Regions from separate parts of the Homo sapiens genome. Here regions 1, 2 and 4 are each linked to region 3. Evidence: promoter capture Hi-C in 16 types of primary human blood cells and fetal thymus (Javierre and others, 2016). All regions are on one chromosome and are shown on one strand. Each heading gives the region's core, a stretch centred on a gene start or on the middle of the fragment in contact. The rest is flanking DNA. Distances are from core to core; before and after follow the strand shown.

What was found. The method cuts DNA at HindIII sites, captures the fragments that hold promoters and counts their contacts. A CHiCAGO score of 5 or more calls a contact.
Region 1: a fragment that was not itself captured here is called in contact with the fragment with the promoter of ACTR8 in region 3 in 1 of 17 cell types (non-activated CD4 T cells); the score reaches 7.0 in non-activated CD4 T cells.
Region 2: a contact is called between a fragment that was not itself captured here and the fragment with the promoter of ACTR8 in region 3, in 3 of 17 cell types (fetal thymus, activated CD4 T cells and non-activated CD4 T cells). The highest score is 7.4, in fetal thymus.
Region 4: a contact is called between a fragment that was not itself captured here and the fragment with the promoter of ACTR8 in region 3, in 1 of 17 cell types (non-activated CD4 T cells). The highest score is 7.2, in non-activated CD4 T cells.

Annotation. Positions count from the first base shown.
Region 1 is chr3:57,580,279-57,582,978 of GRCh38, forward strand. The region is part of intron 3 of ARF4 (ARF GTPase 4); the gene reads right to left. It also overlaps a transcript of PDE12 not described here. Among named protein-coding and RNA genes, the nearest start is that of ARF4, 16 kb to the right of the region's middle. The HindIII fragment of the contact is 881 bases long and covers 1,011-1,891 here.
Region 2 is chr3:57,557,167-57,559,866 of GRCh38, forward strand. It overlaps PDE12 (phosphodiesterase 12), which reads left to right. Exons shown (of 3, transcript NM_177966.7): 1 at 1-521; 2 at 2,144-2,222; 3 at 2,396-2,700. Among named protein-coding and RNA genes, the nearest start is that of PDE12, 2.2 kb to the left of the region's middle. RefSeq lists enhancers at 1-41, 938-1,570. The HindIII fragment of the contact is 2,956 bases long and covers 1-2,700 here.
Region 3 is chr3:53,880,861-53,883,560 of GRCh38, forward strand. ACTR8 (actin related protein 8) reads right to left here and starts at 1,292. Exons shown (of 13, transcript NM_022899.5): 1 at 1,119-1,292. The coding sequence starts at 1,241. RefSeq lists silencers at 919-1,028, 1,419-1,508 and an enhancer at 1,179-1,258. The HindIII fragment of the contact is 9,111 bases long and covers 635-2,700 here.
Region 4 is chr3:57,221,811-57,224,510 of GRCh38, forward strand. It overlaps a transcript of HESX1 not described here. Among named protein-coding and RNA genes, the nearest start is that of APPL1, 4.6 kb to the right of the region's middle. The HindIII fragment of the contact is 253 bases long and covers 1,156-1,408 here.

The DNA.
Region 1 (2,700 bases), core at 201-2,700, 3.7 Mb after region 3:
ACAGAGATATAAAAGATCATTGTTCTTGGCTTATCATGGGCATTTATTTAGCAAATATGTCTCCTCCTTTCCATATTTCAAAAGCTACTCCTTTTTAGAACCAAACCTTCCATTTTTTTGTTTCTTCTTTTTTTCAAAAAAGAGGCAAGGTCTCCTTTTGTCCCCCAGGCTGGAGTACAGAGGCGCAACTGTAGCTCACTTCAGCCTCCAACTCCTGTGCTCAGGTGATCCTCCCACCTCAGCCTCTCAAGTAGCTGGGACTACAGGAGTATGCCACCATGCCCAGGTAATTTTTTTTTAATTTTTTTTTGTAGAGACAGGGTTTCACTCTGTTGCCTGGACTGGCCTCAAGTGATCCTCGTATCATGGCCTCCCAAAGTGTTGGTGTTTCAGGCATAAGCCATAGCACCCGGTCCTGAAACCTACCCTTTACAAGAGGTAATGCCCCTAAAAGGGACCTAATTTTATTTTGACTGCTAACTTCCCATTTTTATTCTTTTTTTTTTTTTTTAAATGTAAAGACAGGGTCTCACTATGTTCCCCAGGCTGGCCTCAAACTCCTGAGCTCAAGCGATCCTCCCACCTCAGCCTCCCAAAGTGCTGAGAGTACAGGCATAAGCCACTGCACCCAGCCTTTGTTTTAAAATGCAAATAATGCTATCAGTCCCAAAGTGACATTATTGAGAAGGAGAATTATTTTAGGTATTAATCCCTAATTATTTTCTTCCTGGAACAGCCTAGAATCAAGAGTGAAGAAAAGCTAGGATTCTACAGATAAGCCCAGCTGCTATGAAATTATTTGAAAAGCCAAATATTTACTTATTTACAATGGCAAATTAGTTGGAATTATAAGAGGAATTTACTACACACTGTGCCATGGTTTGTTAGTATAAGTTAGAAACATGGTTAAAGCTATAGTTTCTTTTAAATTTTATAGCTAGGAGAACTGATCAGTAATGCTGGGAATGCAAGCTAAGAGCTTAGCTTTGATTCTATCAGGTAACACATAAAGCTTTCCCCAGCTAGCATGAACTCCCTAGGAAGCAGTACTTAGACTTTTAATTCTCAGATGGTCCAAAGAGGCCAGAATTGGGTCTAATTTCAAATTAAGAATGCAAAGTAAATTACAAAGCATTCTAAACAAATCTAGGGATAAACCCAGGGTTACCCTTGGTCAAGAATTATTAGGCTTAAGGATTAGCAAGGTTTTACTTCATATCTAACTCTTTCAAAATATATTGGCCAAGCGCAGTAGCTCATGCCTGTAATCCCAGCACTTTGGGAAGCCCAGGCAGGTGGATCACATGAGGTCAGGAGATCGAGACCAGCCTGGCTAACATGGTGAAACCCCGTCTCTACTAAAAATACAAAATTAGCCAGGTGTGGTGGCGCATGCCTGAAGTCCCAGCTACTTGGGAGGCTGAGGCAGGAGAATCGCTTGAACCCAGGAGGCAGAGGTTGCAGTGAGCCAAGATTGCGCCATAGCCTGGGTGACAGGACGAGAACTCCATCTCAAAAAAAATAAACAAACTGTCTAGAGGGTAGAGCACATTAGAGATGAGTATGAAACAACACAGCACTGCTTATATCCTAGTAACTGAAGCTGCATAATACATACATGTGAGTTTATTATGCTATTCTATTTGTAGGTGTACAGATTGAGTTTCCTTAATCCAAAAATCCAAATCCAAAACTTCCCGAGCACCAACATAACAAAGAAAAAACTCCCTGGAGTATATCGGATTTTGGATTTCTGGATTTAGAATGCTCAACTGGGTACAATGCAAATATTCCAAAACCCCCAAAATTCTGAGATCAGAAACAGTGGTTTCTGGTCCCAAGAATTTCGGATAAGGAATGTTCACCTTGTATTTAACATTTTCCATAAGGAAGCTTTTTAAAGCATGTGCCTCTGTATCAAGTATCTTTTCTAGTCACAGCTATATTGATGACCATAAACATTCTACTATTTTTTTTTTTTTGAGACAGAGTCTCGCTTTGTCACCCATGCTGGAGTGCAATGGTGTGATCTCGGCTCATCACAACCTCCACCTCCCGGGTTCAAGTGATTCTCCTGCCTCAGCCTCCTGAGTAGCTGGGATCACAGGTGCGCGCCACCACGCCCGGCTAATTTTTGTATTTTTAGTAAAGACGGGGTTTCACTGTGTTGGTCAGGCTGGTCTTGAACTCCTGACCTCGTGATCCGCCCGCCTCAGCCTCCCAAAGTGCTGGGATCACAGGCATGAGCCACCGTGCCTGGCCTAAACATTCTCGTTTTTAAATAAAAAAGTATACCACTTATTTAATATGACATACTATGTAAACCTGGTTGTCCCAGCCACTCACCTAGGGTATTCACTGCCACCTGATGGCAATAAACCCCACTTGTATGCAATGTTTTAAGAGGCTGATAACAAGATGACATTGCAAGTCTTAAAAATATAAAGTGGCAGTGATATCACACTTAAAAAAAATTATTAAGTAATAAAAAAAAACTGACAAGAAATTCCTTGGGTGGTAGAAAACACAATCGAGGTGGGACCAGGTTAAACAAAGGTAGAGTGAGAACAAACTCTCCCATCTTGGGTAAGTCATTCCAAGTTTCAGTTTCCTCATATGTAAGAGAGTTAGATTAGAACAGTGGTTCTCAGCAGGGAGCAATTTTGCCCCCAGGGGATATTTTGCAGGTGTGGAGAGATT
Region 2 (2,700 bases), core at 181-2,680, 3.7 Mb after region 3:
AGTTGGAAAGTGTGTGTGTGGTAGAGGCTGGGCCTGGCACCTGCACTTTTGACCACCGGCATCTCTACACGAAGAAGGTGACTGAGGACGCTCTCATCCGCACTGTCTCTTACAACATCCTGGCAGACACGTACGCGCAGACTGAGTTCTCGCGAACGGTTCTGTACCCATACTGTGCCCCCTACGCCCTGGAGCTCGACTACCGCCAGAACCTTATCCAGAAGGAACTCACCGGCTACAACGCCGATGTCATCTGTTTGCAGGAGGTTGACCGCGCAGTGTTTTCTGACAGCTTGGTACCCGCCCTAGAGGCCTTCGGGCTCGAGGGGGTGTTTCGAATCAAGCAGCACGAAGGCCTGGCCACTTTCTACCGAAAGTCTAAGTTCAGCCTTCTTAGCCAGCATGACATTTCATTCTACGAAGCCCTCGAGTCCGACCCACTTCACAAAGAACTGCTGGAGAAACTAGTTTTGTACCCATCAGCGCAGGAGAAGGTGCTCCAGAGATCTTCTGTTCTTCAGGTAAAGTAGTTCCGCCCGTCTCTTCACATACTGTCCCACTTTTAGGGGCCAGGAAGGCGAGGAATGAGGTGGGGGTTAAAAGTGCGATGAAAGTATCCAGATATTGTTGAAAGGTGTGTTTGCCCTTGTATCTTCAGCACAAAGTTTACTCTTCATTCATTCAGCAGATATTTTTTGAACACCTCTGGTGTGCCTGCCATACTGCAGGTTGCCTTGAACAAGACTAGCAGGGACTTTTACAGTGCTTACAATCTAGCGAGAGGGACACACGCTAAATGCAAGAACAATAGTAGCTAATGTTTTTTACTACTTGCCAAGCACTGTTCTGGCACATTTTAAAGTACTTAAAATTTAAGAGCGTGGTGTGTTTTGAAGTGCTCCATAAATATAAACTAGTTTTTTTTAAATCATAGGCTCATTGAATCTTCACAGTAAGTCCCCTATTCCCATTTTATAGATGTCATTCTTGTGTTAAAGTTTTTAAGTAATTGATTTTGTTCATAATAAGAAGAGCAGCTACCATTTTTTAAGTACCTAAGGTGTTTCATGCACCTTATAAGATCATTTAATTGACTCCACACAACAGCCCATGAGGTGGATGGTATTGTCAGTGACTGCCAGTACGAAACTGGCTAGAAAAGCATCTTTTTGCAGGTCACATTGCTATAAATGGTGAAATGAGTATTCAAACCCAGGTCTGCCTGACTCCAAAGCCTGTGCTTACGCTTGAAAACACTTTCTCCAGTCAAAGTGTTGTCATGTAAAATGTATTGTTTATATTACTAGCTTTATATATTGGACTATTATTATTATTATTATTATTTTGAGACGGAGTCTCTGTCACCTAGGCTGGAGTACGGTGGCGCGATATCGGCTCACCGCAACTTCCGCCTCCCGGGTTCAAGCGATTCTCCTGCCTCAGCCTCCCTAGTAGCTGGGACTAGAGGCGCGTGCCACCACGCCCGGCTAATTTTTTTAGTAGAGACGGGGTTTGGGGTTTCACCATGTTAGCCAGGATGGTCTCGATCTCCTGACCTCGTGATCCGCCCGCCTCAGCCTCCCAAAGTGCTGGGATTACAGGCGTGAGCCACCACGCCCGGCCTATATTGGACTATTATTAAAACATGTTACACTGAACCTAGTCATGTAGATCCTGAAACTTTAAGTTGGATTTCATGACTGCAGTCCTAGTTCATCAAGGGAAGGAGATGGAAGAAAACGTTAGTTCGCCATTAGTCTTAGATAAAAAACAGGCCGGGCCTGGTGGCTTATGCCTGTAATCCCAGCACTTTGGGAGGCCGAGGCGGGTGGATCACAAGTCAGGAAATCGAGACCATCCTGGCTAACACGATGAAACCCCGTCTCTACTACAAATACAAAAAAATTAGCCGGGCGTGGTGGCACGCGCCTGTAGTCCCAGCTACTCCGGAGGCAGAGGCAGGGGAATCGCTTGAACCCGGGAGGCGGAGCTTGCAGTGAGCCGAGATCGCGCTACTGCACTCCAGCCTGGTTGACAGAGTGAGACTGTCTCGAAAAAACTCAAAAAAACAAACAAACAAACAAAAACATTCAGGAGATTTGCAAATGCCAACTGAACTCTTGGCACTTTCCGTTTATTTTAGGTTTCAGTTCTTCAGTCTACAAAGGACTCTTCTAAAAGGATATGTGTTGCTAATACCCATCTTTACTGGCATCCTAAAGGTAGGTTTTATTTGGTATCACAAGTGACTTAAACACGCTTAAAGTTGTTTAAAGTGTTTTACACAAATGCATATCTTGAACGTCACCCAGAGACTGTAATTTGTGTAGTTTTTCTTTTTTAACTTAAAGACAACTTTAAAAAATACTTACATTAATGTTTTTTATATTCATAGGTGGGTATATTCGCCTCATTCAAATGGCAGTAGCCTTGGCTCACATAAGACATGTTTCATGTGATCTGTATCCTGGCATACCAGTTATATTTTGTGGGGACTTTAATAGTACACCATCAACAGGAATGTATCATTTTGTCATCAATGGCAGCATTCCAGAGGATCATGAAGACTGGGCTTCCAATGGGGAGGAGGAAAGATGCAATATGTCTCTTACACATTTCTTCAAGCTGAAAAGTGCTTGTGGTGAACCTGCTTACACAAATTATGTTGGTGGCTTTCATGGATGTCTAGATTACATTTTC
Region 3 (2,700 bases), core at 42-2,541:
AGAAACCCTCCCTGACTGTCGGGGATGGAGGAGGTACTTGCTTGAGTGCCCAATACTGCCCTCTGCACAAGCCCATTCCATGCCATGCTCTGATACCTGTTGTCCTATCTCCAAGTGTGACCTCTCTCCTCCTAATCACCCCCCACAGAGTGGGAGAATCCTAGAGGGAAGGATCTGGCAAGGCCCTTACAGACCATCCAGTCAGCCTTCTCAACTAGACAGATGGAGAAACCAGGCCTGTGCAACAGTAATGGCCACTCTGGGCTTACGGTGTGCCAGGCACTGTCATACTAGTGATAACTAACTAGTAGCTGCCCTACTAGTTAGGTATTATCCTTAACCCATCTACCGGTAAGGAAGCTGGATCAGAGATGTCCTACATGAATTTCTGAGCAGTTTATGCCTCATTTCTTCTGTGAATTGTACACTGCCTGTGCCCGTTTTCCTACGTGAATGCTGTTTTAGTTACTGATCAGTAAGGTTTTGTGTATGTGTATACATCTAAGGTCCTCTGCCAGGCACGCTACTGCAAATAATTTTTTCTGGTTAGTTTAGTTTGGTCTAATAGTGTTGTTTTTGATACACAAGCTCTTAATATATATTTAGACAAATGTCCACCATTTCCTTGCTTTTAAGCTTGAAATGACTTCCATTATCTGAGATTTCCTTAACAAAGGAAAAAGCCTGGACCCCAAACTATCCCTTAACAAGCACAGGCTGACGCTCCCAGTGAGCCAGCCTGGTCCTAAACTCTATCTGCCACCATTTAACCCTCACGGCAACTTGCGAGGCGGCTGGTTATCACCGTGGTCGTTTTATGGTCGGGGAAGCTGAGGCCAGAGCCCGGGCAGGAGCGCACACAACCAGACGGTGGGGCGTGCGGGAGATCGGAGCGGTGTCCCTGCGGGGGCTCCGCCTGGCTCCTGGCGCTCCGCACCTCCCAGCCCTCGGCGTCCCGGCGCGCCACCACCCGGAAAAGAACGACCGCTTCCGCACTCCCCCCACCAGGGGCTGGGGCCTGCAAGGGGGACTCGAAGCCTCCCGCCGCCTCCCGCCCCTTGCCTGGCAGCGGAGGACCCAAGCAAGGGCAAAGAGTTCCAACCCAGCCAGAGCCGCACCTCTTGCAGCGACTCCGGCACCAGCGCGGGCACGATGGGCCGCTTCACGCCGCGCTGCTCCTTCTCCTTCTCGCCGCCCTTCTCCTTTCCGTTCTCCGTATCACCCTTCTCAGCCTGGGTCATTATGGCCGGAGACACCCACCAACCTCTCGCCTCAGCGCTGCAGCCACGACTGCCGGGATGGAAGGGCCACCGCGCAGGCGCACGGCCGGCTGCCCACAGTCAAGATGGCCGCCGCGGAGTCGCCCCAGAGGGCTCCGAAAAGGCGGGGGTGGGGCTGCCCGGCGCAGGGGCTGGGGGCGGGGTGTGCATGCGGATTGATTGGGTGGGTGTTGCTGTGATTAGTCCTGACTGTGTAGATGCCAGCAACATAGTACACATAGCTTTTCGAGCGCCTAGTGGGGGTCGGCTGATAACCCGCATCTTATTTCGTCCTCACAGGCATCTCTTCTCCTGGCTTCCCAGATACCATATGTACTCTTAGTTTTTCTCATATGTCTTCATGTTCAGTCCAGCCTCTGATGTTGGGGTTAGGTCTTTTCCAGGCACACTCCTTGGGTGACTATCCAGTTTCCTGGCTTTAGCAATGAATACGATTCCCAAATATATATATCCAGGATGAACCGCTCAGAGAGATCCGTACTGATAACCAGTGCCTACTTGGTCTCTCCATCTGGATTGTCTACAAGGCACTGCAAACTTAAATATGTCCAAAATTTAACTCTTGATTCCCTCCCCTCTCACTTTCACCATCTCAGTAAATGTCATTTTGATTCTTCACTTGTTGACAGCTTCTACATCCAATCCATCAGTAAATCCTGCAGTCTCTAAAATAGATCTTGAATTCATCCACTTCTCCATTCCCATGCCACTACCTAGCCCAAGCCACTATCATCTCACCTGGATGACTACAACAGCCTCTTAACTCGAACTCCTTGTCCTGTCCCCCTATGATCTGTTCTTATATAGTTGCCCACGTTGTTTTAAAATATTACGTAGTTAATACTACTATGTACCCAGCACTCCACTAAGACTTACCTCAAAAATTAGATGTCACTCATGCTTTAAACTCTAATGGTTTCCCTTTGCTCAAAGAACAGAATCTAAACTAACCACCACCTAAAGACCATATCTAGTTATTGCTACATTTCTAAGTTCACCTCACAACACTCTCCCCATTCCTTGGCATTTCCAGCTACACCTGTTTTATCTTTCTCAGACATGCCAAGCCCTTCCCGTCATCGGGCTGTTGCACTTGCTGTTCATTTTGCCTTGGATGCTCTTCCCTCAGCTGTCTCATTCTCACGTCTGAACTCAAATGTCACCTCAGGCCTTCCGCAGTTATTCTCTCATCATCCTATTCCCTTTGAAGCATGAAGCATTAGTCTGTAATTATCATGCCTGCTCACTGTCTCCCACACTAGAATGTAAGCTCCGTGAGACTTTGCCAGTTATCTTCAGCACATGGTAGGTGCCCAATAAGCATGTGATGACTAAATACTAAATAAAGAACTCTTGGAGGTAAAAATTTAATCCCCGTTTTACAGGTGAGTGAAGTGGGATAAAATGGCATAATTCACTC
Region 4 (2,700 bases), core at 32-2,531, 3.3 Mb after region 3:
TGTCAAGGCTGGTCTTGAACTCCTGATCTCGTGATCCACCCGCCTTGGCCTCCCAAAGTGCTGGGATTATAGGCATGAGCCACTGCTCCCGGCCAATATGCTATACTTCTAATACTACTTACTATGTTTATTTTTTATTGTCTTTCTCCCCACCATATCTACTAACCTGTAGCTCCACAATGACAGATATTTTTGTTTTGTTCATTATTTAATAAATATTTGTTGAATGAAGACAGCTGTTCCCTGAGGTAGTCTGAATCCTAAATAATTGGTGCCATCTAGTGTTCTTGGAAGCACGTGTGAATTATCCCTGAGAGTCTTATTTGTATTAGCCATTGGATAAATAGTACTGGTATAATCAATTCTGCTACTCTGTTTTTCACTGCCCTCTATGGCTCTGAAAATATTAAAATGTTTTCAATGATTAAACAGGCACAGGACATATTAATTTCCCTAAAAGCATTTTTTTGAGACAGGGTCTCGCTATCACCAGGCTGGAGTACAGCGGCAAGATCACGGCTCACTGCAGCCTTGACCTCCTGGGCTTAAGCAATCCTCCCACCTCAGCCTCCCGAGTAACTGGGACTACAGGCATGTGCCACCACACCTGGCTAATTTTTAAATTTTTTGTAGAGACACGGTCTCACTATGTTGCACAGGTTAGTCTCAAATTCCTGGGCTCAAGCGATCCTCCCACCTCAGCCTCCCAAAATTTTGGGATTACAGCTGTGAGCCACCGCCCCCAGCCTATGAGCAATTTTTTCCCCAATGATTTGACTGTTCCTTCCAGAATTCCCATGTGGGGTAAGTGTCATGAAAATCTTTTAACTTTGGGGCACCTCTACCCACTCACCACCCGCCAAACAAAAAACAAAACAAAAAACAAAACAAAAACTCCTAAAAACCTCAAAATGGCAATAATCTTGGCTATTTTGGTAATTGTTTTGGTACACTTTTCCTCCAGAATTTCAAAGTACATATTTATTGATTTTGAAATTTTGGTTTTGGCCTCAAAAGCCCCCAAATCAAAGTGATAAAACATTAGCAAGAGTAACTAATGTTATTTAAAATAGCATCAGGATTCTCTAAGGTAATGAGCCCAATCTTCTGATTTAAAAAATATTAGTTTTTAAAAAAATATGATAGAGACAAAAAAGCTTCCTTAAATGTATTAAAATATTTTAATATTTAATAGTTGATAATGAAAAAGATAATTTTTACTGAATGCTTATTGCGCTAGGAGCTACTCTAAAAGCTCATTAATCATCTTAACAATACTATTAATGTAAGTTCTCTAGTATTAAGCTCCATTTTTCAGATGGCAGAATGGAGAAACAGAGAAGTTAAATAACCTTACTTAAGTCACAGAGCTACTAAACAGTGGAGCCAGAATTTAAATCACAGCCCAAGCTTATTAGCTCATAACCATGTTCTCATCTACCTCTCCACAGAAGGGCTATGATGCTATTTTGTGTTAAAGTTCTTGGCCTGCTCAGACAAATTAATTAATGTGTTCTTCTAAAAAGGAATCAAGGCAACCATAGATAAACAAAAGCATATACAATTTTCCTAGAAGTTTTTTTTTTTCTTTTTACCATCAAGAAAGTTGAAGCTGCAGAATTGTCCCACATTCTAAGGATGCTGTGGCAATGAGTAAAAGTGACATCAAGGTCAAGGTCAAAGGCAGAAGCTAGTTTGCAGTGGCACAATGAAGAACCAACCAGTTGGTCCTTAGTGCCCTCCCACCTCTTTTTGCAACCCATTCCTCAGAACTTTTTGTTTTACCCTCCAATTGTCCAAAGCTTCCCCCTACTCTGCTACTGGCTCTAATGTTTTAAAATAGATTAAATGACTGAAGTTCCCAAATTATCAATTTTCTTGAAATCTGCTCTTTCCTGAATCTGCTTTATCTCAGCTGGTATTAAGAAAATAATGAATTATCTGTTAAAGTTAGTCCTATTAAGGAGTGATTTACTAGGTAACAACCAGAATTTTTTGCATTATACATTACACTCTTTAAAAGGAGTATGAATTTCCCAGAATTTTAGATTGATGGAGTCTTTTAGAGAATATTTGTGAGTAGGTGGTTTCCAGCTCGTTAGCCTGGAAATCATGTCCTCACCATCCTTAGCTGGAATCTAGGATTCCTTTTCTAAATGTTTGCTTGACTCTTTATTTTTTGTTAATTTTTGTTTTAATTTAGACTGAGTCTCGCTTTGTCACCCAGGTTGGAGTGCAGTGGTGTGATTTCGGCTCACTGCAACCTCCGCCTCCCAAGTTCAAGCGATTCTCCTGCCTCAGCCTCCCGAGTAGCTGGGATAATAGGAACCTGCCACCACATCCAGCTAATTTTTGCAGAGACGGGGTTTCACTATGTTGCCCAGCCTGGTCTTGAACTCTTGACCTCAGGTGATCCACCCGCCTCGGCCTCCCGAAGTGCTGGGATTACAGGCATGAGCCACTGCACCAGGCCAATTTTTTAAAATTTTAATTTAATTTAATTTTTTTTTGTAGAGATGGTGTCTCTGTGTTGCCCAGGCTAGTCTCAAACTCCAGAGCTTAAGCAATCCTTCCACCTTGACCTCCCAAAGTGCTAGGATTACAAGCATGAGCTACTGTGCCCACCTGACTCTTTAAAAATTTTTTTTAAATACAAAGTGATTTAGGAAAGGGAAATGATCATTCTCCATCTTGGATAGA